Regions from separate parts of the Homo sapiens genome. Here region 1 is linked to region 2. The links are contacts of gene promoters, found by promoter capture Hi-C in human tissues and cell types (Jung and others, 2019). All regions are on one chromosome and are shown on one strand. The core of a region is centred on a gene start or on the middle of the fragment in contact, and the rest is flanking DNA. Distances in the headings are between cores, read along the strand shown. Region 1 overlaps HIVEP2 (HIVEP zinc finger 2). Region 2 holds the start of ADAT2 (adenosine deaminase tRNA specific 2).

Evidence for each region. The method cuts DNA at HindIII sites, captures the fragments that hold promoters and counts their contacts. A contact is called where the count stands out against the background at its distance.
Region 1: a fragment that was not itself captured here is called in contact with the fragment with the promoter of ADAT2 in region 2 in 1 of the 25 tissues and cell types used here (IMR-90 fibroblasts).

Annotation. Positions count from the first base shown.
Region 1 is chr6:142,786,997-142,790,204 of GRCh38, forward strand. All of the region lies in intron 2 of HIVEP2 (HIVEP zinc finger 2), which reads right to left. Among named protein-coding and RNA genes, the nearest start is that of HIVEP2, 160 kb to the right of the region's middle. The HindIII fragment of the contact is 5,668 bases long and covers 1-3,208 here.
Region 2 is chr6:143,449,127-143,452,540 of GRCh38, forward strand. ADAT2 (adenosine deaminase tRNA specific 2) reads right to left here and starts at 1,569. Exons shown (of 6, transcript NM_182503.3): 1 at 1,437-1,569. The coding sequence starts at 1,532. It overlaps PEX3 (peroxisomal biogenesis factor 3), which reads left to right and starts at 1,679. Exons shown (of 12, transcript NM_003630.3): 1 at 1,679-1,989. The coding sequence starts at 1,917. It also overlaps the pseudogene RNA5SP221. RefSeq lists enhancers at 575-1,557, 1,360-1,519 and silencers at 600-679, 740-819. The HindIII fragment of the contact is 11,275 bases long and covers 1-3,414 here.

The DNA of each region.
Region 1 (3,208 bases), core at 230-2,729, 660 kb before region 2:
ATGTAGTGGCTCACACCTGTAATCCCAGCACTTTGGGAGGATTGCTTAAGACCAGGAGGTTGAGACCAGTCTGGGCAACAAAGCAAGACCCTATCTCTATAAAAAAAAATTTAAGCAGGTGTGGTGGTGCACATCTGTAGTCCCAGCTGCTTGGGAGGCTGAGGTAAGAAGATCATTTGAACCCAGGAGTTTGGCGCTGCAGTGAGCTATAATTGCACCAGTCTGGGGGATAGAGTGAGACCCCGTCTCAAAAATAAATAAATAAATAAATAAAAACAACATCAATGAAAATAATTCTTATAAACTCAATGGAAAAATGGCAAATAGAAACTGGAAACAAGATATGATAGTTTTATTTCTCAGTAAAAAGAGTGTTTAAGTATTACATGTTTAAAAGAATGAACACTACTCTTCACTAGAGAAGAGACACTTTACTCTTATAGTAGGGAATAGAAAAGATTCAAAAGTAGTGACTAAAGATGGGAGAAGAGCACTGAAAGAGATATCAATGTTCAAGATATAATCCATCAATTTCACAAGCTTTTTGTAGAGGCATCTTTTCCTCTCTACAAAAAAAAAAAAAAAAAGACTCTAAATGGGCCCATTGTTCCACTCTGGAGTGCGTAAAGTGGCAAAGGAAGAAGAGGCTGCGAAGGACTAGAGAAGGCAGGTACAGGATAGACAACACACATACACACACACACATACATTGACAGGATGATGACTATAAGCTTAGATCTTCAGAAATATTTTTGATATAAAGGTAATGGATGAGGTTGGGGTTGAAATGTAAAAAAGAAAACATATTAAAGGGACATGACTAGGAAAAGAGAAACATAGTAGTTTTGGAACATGGGGCAATTCATTACTGGGACAACAATGTAGAAGGTTTTGAAAAGTCAAGAAGGTGCATGGAAGGAAGGATTCCCACAGAGTTTTCATAATAGGAGGCTGGGGCAAACTGAGTCCAAATTAGCCAGAAACTGCCCATAAAAATGACACCAAAGCTACATATGGTCTATTGCTGATTCTCAGCAGGTAGTGCAGGAGCACAGAAAAGATAGGAAACAAAGCATTGTGTAAATTAAAACTAGTGAAAACAAACAAAAAAAGCAGATACATGTGCATTAGAGATTGTAACTTAGGCCTCTTTAAATAGGATTTCTGATTATTCTATGATACTTTAAGACATTTACTTATACCTAATGTTAAATGACGAGTTAATGGGTGCAGCACACCAATATGGCACATGTATACATATGTAACAAACCTGCACATTGTGCACATGTACCCTAAAACTTAAAGTATAATAAAAAAAAATCCCCCCCTCAAAAAAAAGACATTTACTGAATGCCTACGATATGCCAGAAATGGGCTGTATTTACACAATACAGAAAAAGAAAAGACAAGCATTGCATTTAAGAGCACAGAGCTGGCTGGGTATGGTGGCTCACACCTGTAATCCCAGCACTTTGGGAGGCCCAGGCGGGCAGCTCACTTGAGGTCACGACTTCAAGACCAGCCTAGCCAACATGGTGAAACCCTGTTTCTACTAAAAATACAAAAATTAGCCGGGTGTGGTGGCTGGAACCTGTAATCCCAACTACTCAGGAGGCTGAGGCAGGAAAATCTCTTGAACCCGGGAAGCAGAGGTTGCAGTGAGCCAAGATCACACCACTGCACTCCAGTCTGGGTAACAGAGCAAGACTCCATCTCGAAAAACAACAACAACAAACAAACAAACAAAACAAACAAACAAACGAAGAGCTCAGAGCTTCAGCGGGGAGATATTTGTGAATTAGTTCAACAAATGACATAAATATAAACAGATTACAAAGGAGATTACAAGAGGGAATGGTCACTCCTTTCTGGAAAGTTAGAAAAGGCTTTCTAGATGTAACGACACTGAACTTAATATTTAAATAAAACTATATATGCTAATATACAGAAATGCACAGTTATCAATGTTAGATTTAGAGACAAATACATTTGTCAGATGAAATAAAAATACAAGACTCTACCATTCCGGTTTCTCTATGATTATATATACTTTATTTTGTGTGATGGAATGTTGGTTCATGAGGATGCTTGGGGAATAAGGTGTTCTAGTTAATACAATCTTATGGTTAGGTAAAGACCACAGAGAAAATCATTTTTTGTTAAACATCTGGTGGTAATTTATTTTCAAAAGTACACTAGCTTTTGCCTTGAGTTAATTACAGTCTACTAACCATAATTTAATCTTCCTTTGATGGTTCAGGATCATATAGTGTTCTCCAGTCATTCTGCATCTTGGCTGTGCTCATCTGGTATTGGCCATGCAAACTTCTCCCAACATGTGTCCTTAAAACACACGTCATGTTTTCTAAGATAAGAGCTATAACCTAGGTTTGTTTTCTTGACCCAATTTGACATCACGTAAGTCATATATCTGACTAACTTGATTTTAGGAGCAAATATATGACTACAAACTTCTATTACTATTTAAATGTTTAGCTTATTCTAAATCATATAGGCAGTGTTTAGGGCTATGGAATAATTTAGAAACCATTGAATTTAATCTATCAGGCAACTAACAAATGAAAAAGGTGAGAACCAGAGAAGTCAAAAGACTTGCTTAGGGACCCACAGCTCATTATGATAGTTCTGGTCTACAGCTTAGGTCTTTAAACTGTCAAGTCAATTATTTTCCATTATCCACACTACTTCCTCTTATTCAAAGTTTATTTATCTAACCCTATTTCAGAAATTGATTGAATGAGTAAAGAAGTAAAAAATGAAGAATTAATAATTTTGAAATTCAAATGAGCAAAGATATTTATAATCCATAATCAAAGAAACAGAAAATAACAGTAGTTAAGGATCAATGCTCCACTGAAATGTTTATCAATTTTTATACTAAATAAAAATAAATGCAACAAAAATTTTAATTTTTCCAAAATGAGTAAATGACAGAAAAATTAGAAGATAATCAATTTCCATAAGCAGTGCATTATTTAGTATCCAAAGCAAAAATAATTACTTAATTTACAACCAATTTTCAGTATAAGCTATTTTCTAAGATTTTTATGCTCTTATAACGAAAATTTTTCAGTAAATATTTTAAGTAGAGTTATGAGACCATCTTCCTAAAAGCAAAGATAGCTCTTTCATTGAAAGTCAATGGAGGCAAGCCCCTTGTTCATAATACCAAAATTTCACCTAGGAG
Region 2 (3,414 bases), core at 319-2,818:
ACCTCAATCTCCCAAGGCTCAAGCAATCCACCTTCCTCAGCCTCCTGAGTAGTTGGGACTACAGGCACATGCCACCATGCCCTACTAATTTTTAAATTTTTATTTAGTAGTGACGGGGTCTGGCTAAGTTGCCCAGGCTGTTCTTCAACTTTTGAGATCAAGAGATCCTCTTGCTTCTGCCTTCCAAAGTTTTGGGATTACAGGCATGAGCCACTGCATCTGGCCATGCTACTTTGTATCTTTTTAAACATGTAGATGTTTTCAAAGAATTTCTAGACCTCTCTGGCTTTGACATTTTTTGTCTCTTAATTGTATTATAAACACCTAGGGATGTGATTCCATAGTTTACGTCCTCCTACACAGGATTAAGGAGGCAGCTGCTTCTTGGGTTTTAGCATATACAAGTTTCTTCAAGGTCTTAAAGGAAAAAAAGTACTTGTTAGGAGGGCTACATGTCACTGGGCAACAGGAACTTTTCAGCTTCATTATAATCCTATAGCACCACCGCTGTATATGTGGTCCTATAAGATTATAATGGAGCTGAAAAGTGCTAGCGAGCTTCTTAACTGGGATAAAAGTTTGTTTGTAAACGTATGTAAATGTATTTACATGTGCTAGCCCAGGGTCAACCTAAAAGGTAGCGAAAGTGTTTAGCCCAGAAGTCTACATAGAAACTAGGGTTGTCTACCTCCATACCACCCTGAATGTCCCCCGATCTCGGAAGCTAAGCAGGGTCAGGCCTGGTTAGTACTTGGATGGGACAATAGGGCTAAGGTGAGTAGATTTAATGCTCCAGGATAACGACCTTTACCGACAGGTCATTGTGTGGCACGTGGCTGTATGTAGTTATTAAAATGTAAATACATATATTTACAAACAAACTTTTTTTCCCAGTTAAGAAGCTCGCTAGCACACAGCATTCTGTTGAAAGCCCCCTTTATTTCGCAGTCCTGAAGGGAGTGAGGGAAGGAAGTAAAAGGGCAGAGGAAATAATGAATGAATGCGAGACGCCGATTGTACAGGGACTTGTTTCCATACTGCTCTCTACCAGAAACGTTCTCAGTTTCCTTCCTTCTGCTGGACATGTTCCAAGGGCCAAAACCTCAAATAATGTGACTTTGTAGATTGGAGAGTGTGTGACCACAGAAAGGAAAGGGAGGCAGCACGTGCCAGCCGGCGACAGAATGTTAAGTCTGCAGCATACTCCACCGCAATGAAACAAATAATTTGTGTATTTCCTCCCCTTCCTTCGCCCAGAGCCACTGTGAGAATGGGCTACAGAAAGTTTCGAGGCAGTAAAGCCAGTTGTTCACCCAGAACATCTGACTGCCATAAAAATTATGGTGACGAGAAAGAACGTTTGCTCAAATGCCGGGGTCGGGTTGAGGGCTGGAGAAAGGTCCCACCCCGCAGCATCTACCTCCCGGGCTCCTCACCATGTGCATCGCCTCCTCCATCCACTTTTCGGTCTCCTCTGCCGACACCGAGCACGCGCCGCTTGCAGCTGGCTTGGGTGCCGCCTTCGCCTCCATACCCAGCCACCACTCAGCTACAGAGCCCGCGGCAGAGGAGGAGCGCGGGCAGCGGAACGCGGCGGGCCCGGGACCCCGTTTCCGGGGGTAGTCTAATGAAAAGGCACTCGGGAGCTATTTCTGAACGGACCTGGGCTTGTCGGACCAGTGAGCGGCGGCGGCTGCGCGGCGGCAGCGGCAGAAAGCGTAGCTGCTTTGCTGTAGTCCACGCCCCCTTGCCGCTCCGGTGACAGTCTCTGCGGAAAGTCACGTTTGTGATTTCGGGAGAGCACAGAACGGGACGACGGCGCTCTTGCTGGGTCATCTGGGCCAGGTGACGAAGAAACAGTTTCCTGGTGAAGCAGTCCCTCACCCCTAGTCAGCCCACACCCCTAGGGCCTAAAGATGCTGAGGTCTGTATGGAATTTTCTGAAACGCCACAAAAAGAAATGCATCTTCCTGGGCACGGTCCTTGGAGGTGGGTGACAACGTGCTTGAAAGGGGGCATTGGGAGAAGGGGGTGGGAGAGGTGACTTCTTCTAAAATAAGGACAGGCCGGGCGATCCTAGTCTGGGATATGTAGAGGGAGTTCGATCAACCATGGGATGAAAAGGGAGGTGGCCAACCTCCAGGGTTCTCCCATCTCTGCAGTTGAGAAATGCCTCTGTGCCCTTTGCCCTGTCACCGACTCTTAACTCTGTTTCTCACCTATCCTTTTTTCTCACGGACCTTTGGAGAACTCATCACAGTTTAAGTTTCTGTTTCAAGGCACCATTCTCTTACAGGAACTTTTTAAAAAAAATTCTGCTTTCCTGTGAGATTCTGCATTTCTCCTTGGCACTCTTGATACTTTGGCTCTCACCCTTCTCAGGAGTTTAATAATAATCTAGGGAAGTTACCTATAGGCTGCACTTCGGGTGGTGGTTAAAGTCGATTTGAATTTTTGAAAACAGCGCAGTTGTCCTAAAGGACTGAAAGATATGGATTAGATAAAGAAAAACAAATCAATATTTTAGCTCTGTTTCTGCCATTTTAGAATACAAACTATGGCAGTAAGAAAAATGCTTGAGGGATGTTGTGCAATCTTCCTCAGGATCTTCAAGGTTGGGATCATTGTAATCTAGCTGACATAACTGAGTTGCACAGGCCCAGAGGAGATTTAGAAACAGATAAGATAAAAATCTTGAGACGCTTTTCCCTCATACAATGCTCATGTGATAATATTCAGGGATTTGAAGGAGGGAATAAAAGTTTTGTGAATTATATGAAAAGGACATCTAGGAACTATAAAAGAGGAAATTTGTTAGAACTTGAGTTTTTGAGAAATAGTCTCATCACTTATTACATGCTATGTTTACAAAAGTACTTAAAATCAAGAACAGAGTTTCCCAAAGAATTTGGTTGGCTTTTCTCTTAGTATTAGATTGTATTCTGTTCTCCCCAAACAATTTGAAATTAACAGTACGTATTAGATTGTATTCTGTTCTCCCCAAACAATTTGCAATTAATACCTTTAGCATCAATAGTTCAGATTTTGGTGATGCTTGAAAGTTTGAAACAGAGTTCTTGTTGCTGAGCCAAGGATGGTGTTTTGCATGTCTCTGAGGTCTATCACACATCAATAATAAGCATATGTAAATTTTGAACACCTTCGAGAAATCCTTTATATATAAAAGGTATTTTCTGATATCTTCAGTCGCTAGTATCTAATGTATATTTAAATTATCCTAAGACTACAGAGTCCATTTTATTTATAAAAGCTAAAAATATATGTGTGATTGAAGAAATACAAATAAAGTATTTTTGCGTTTACTGAAGGAAGGAAAATTATCTCTTTAGCGATCTCAGAAGGAATACTCCTTCAGCTTATGGAACAACTTTGTAGTAGATTAGAAATAATCAC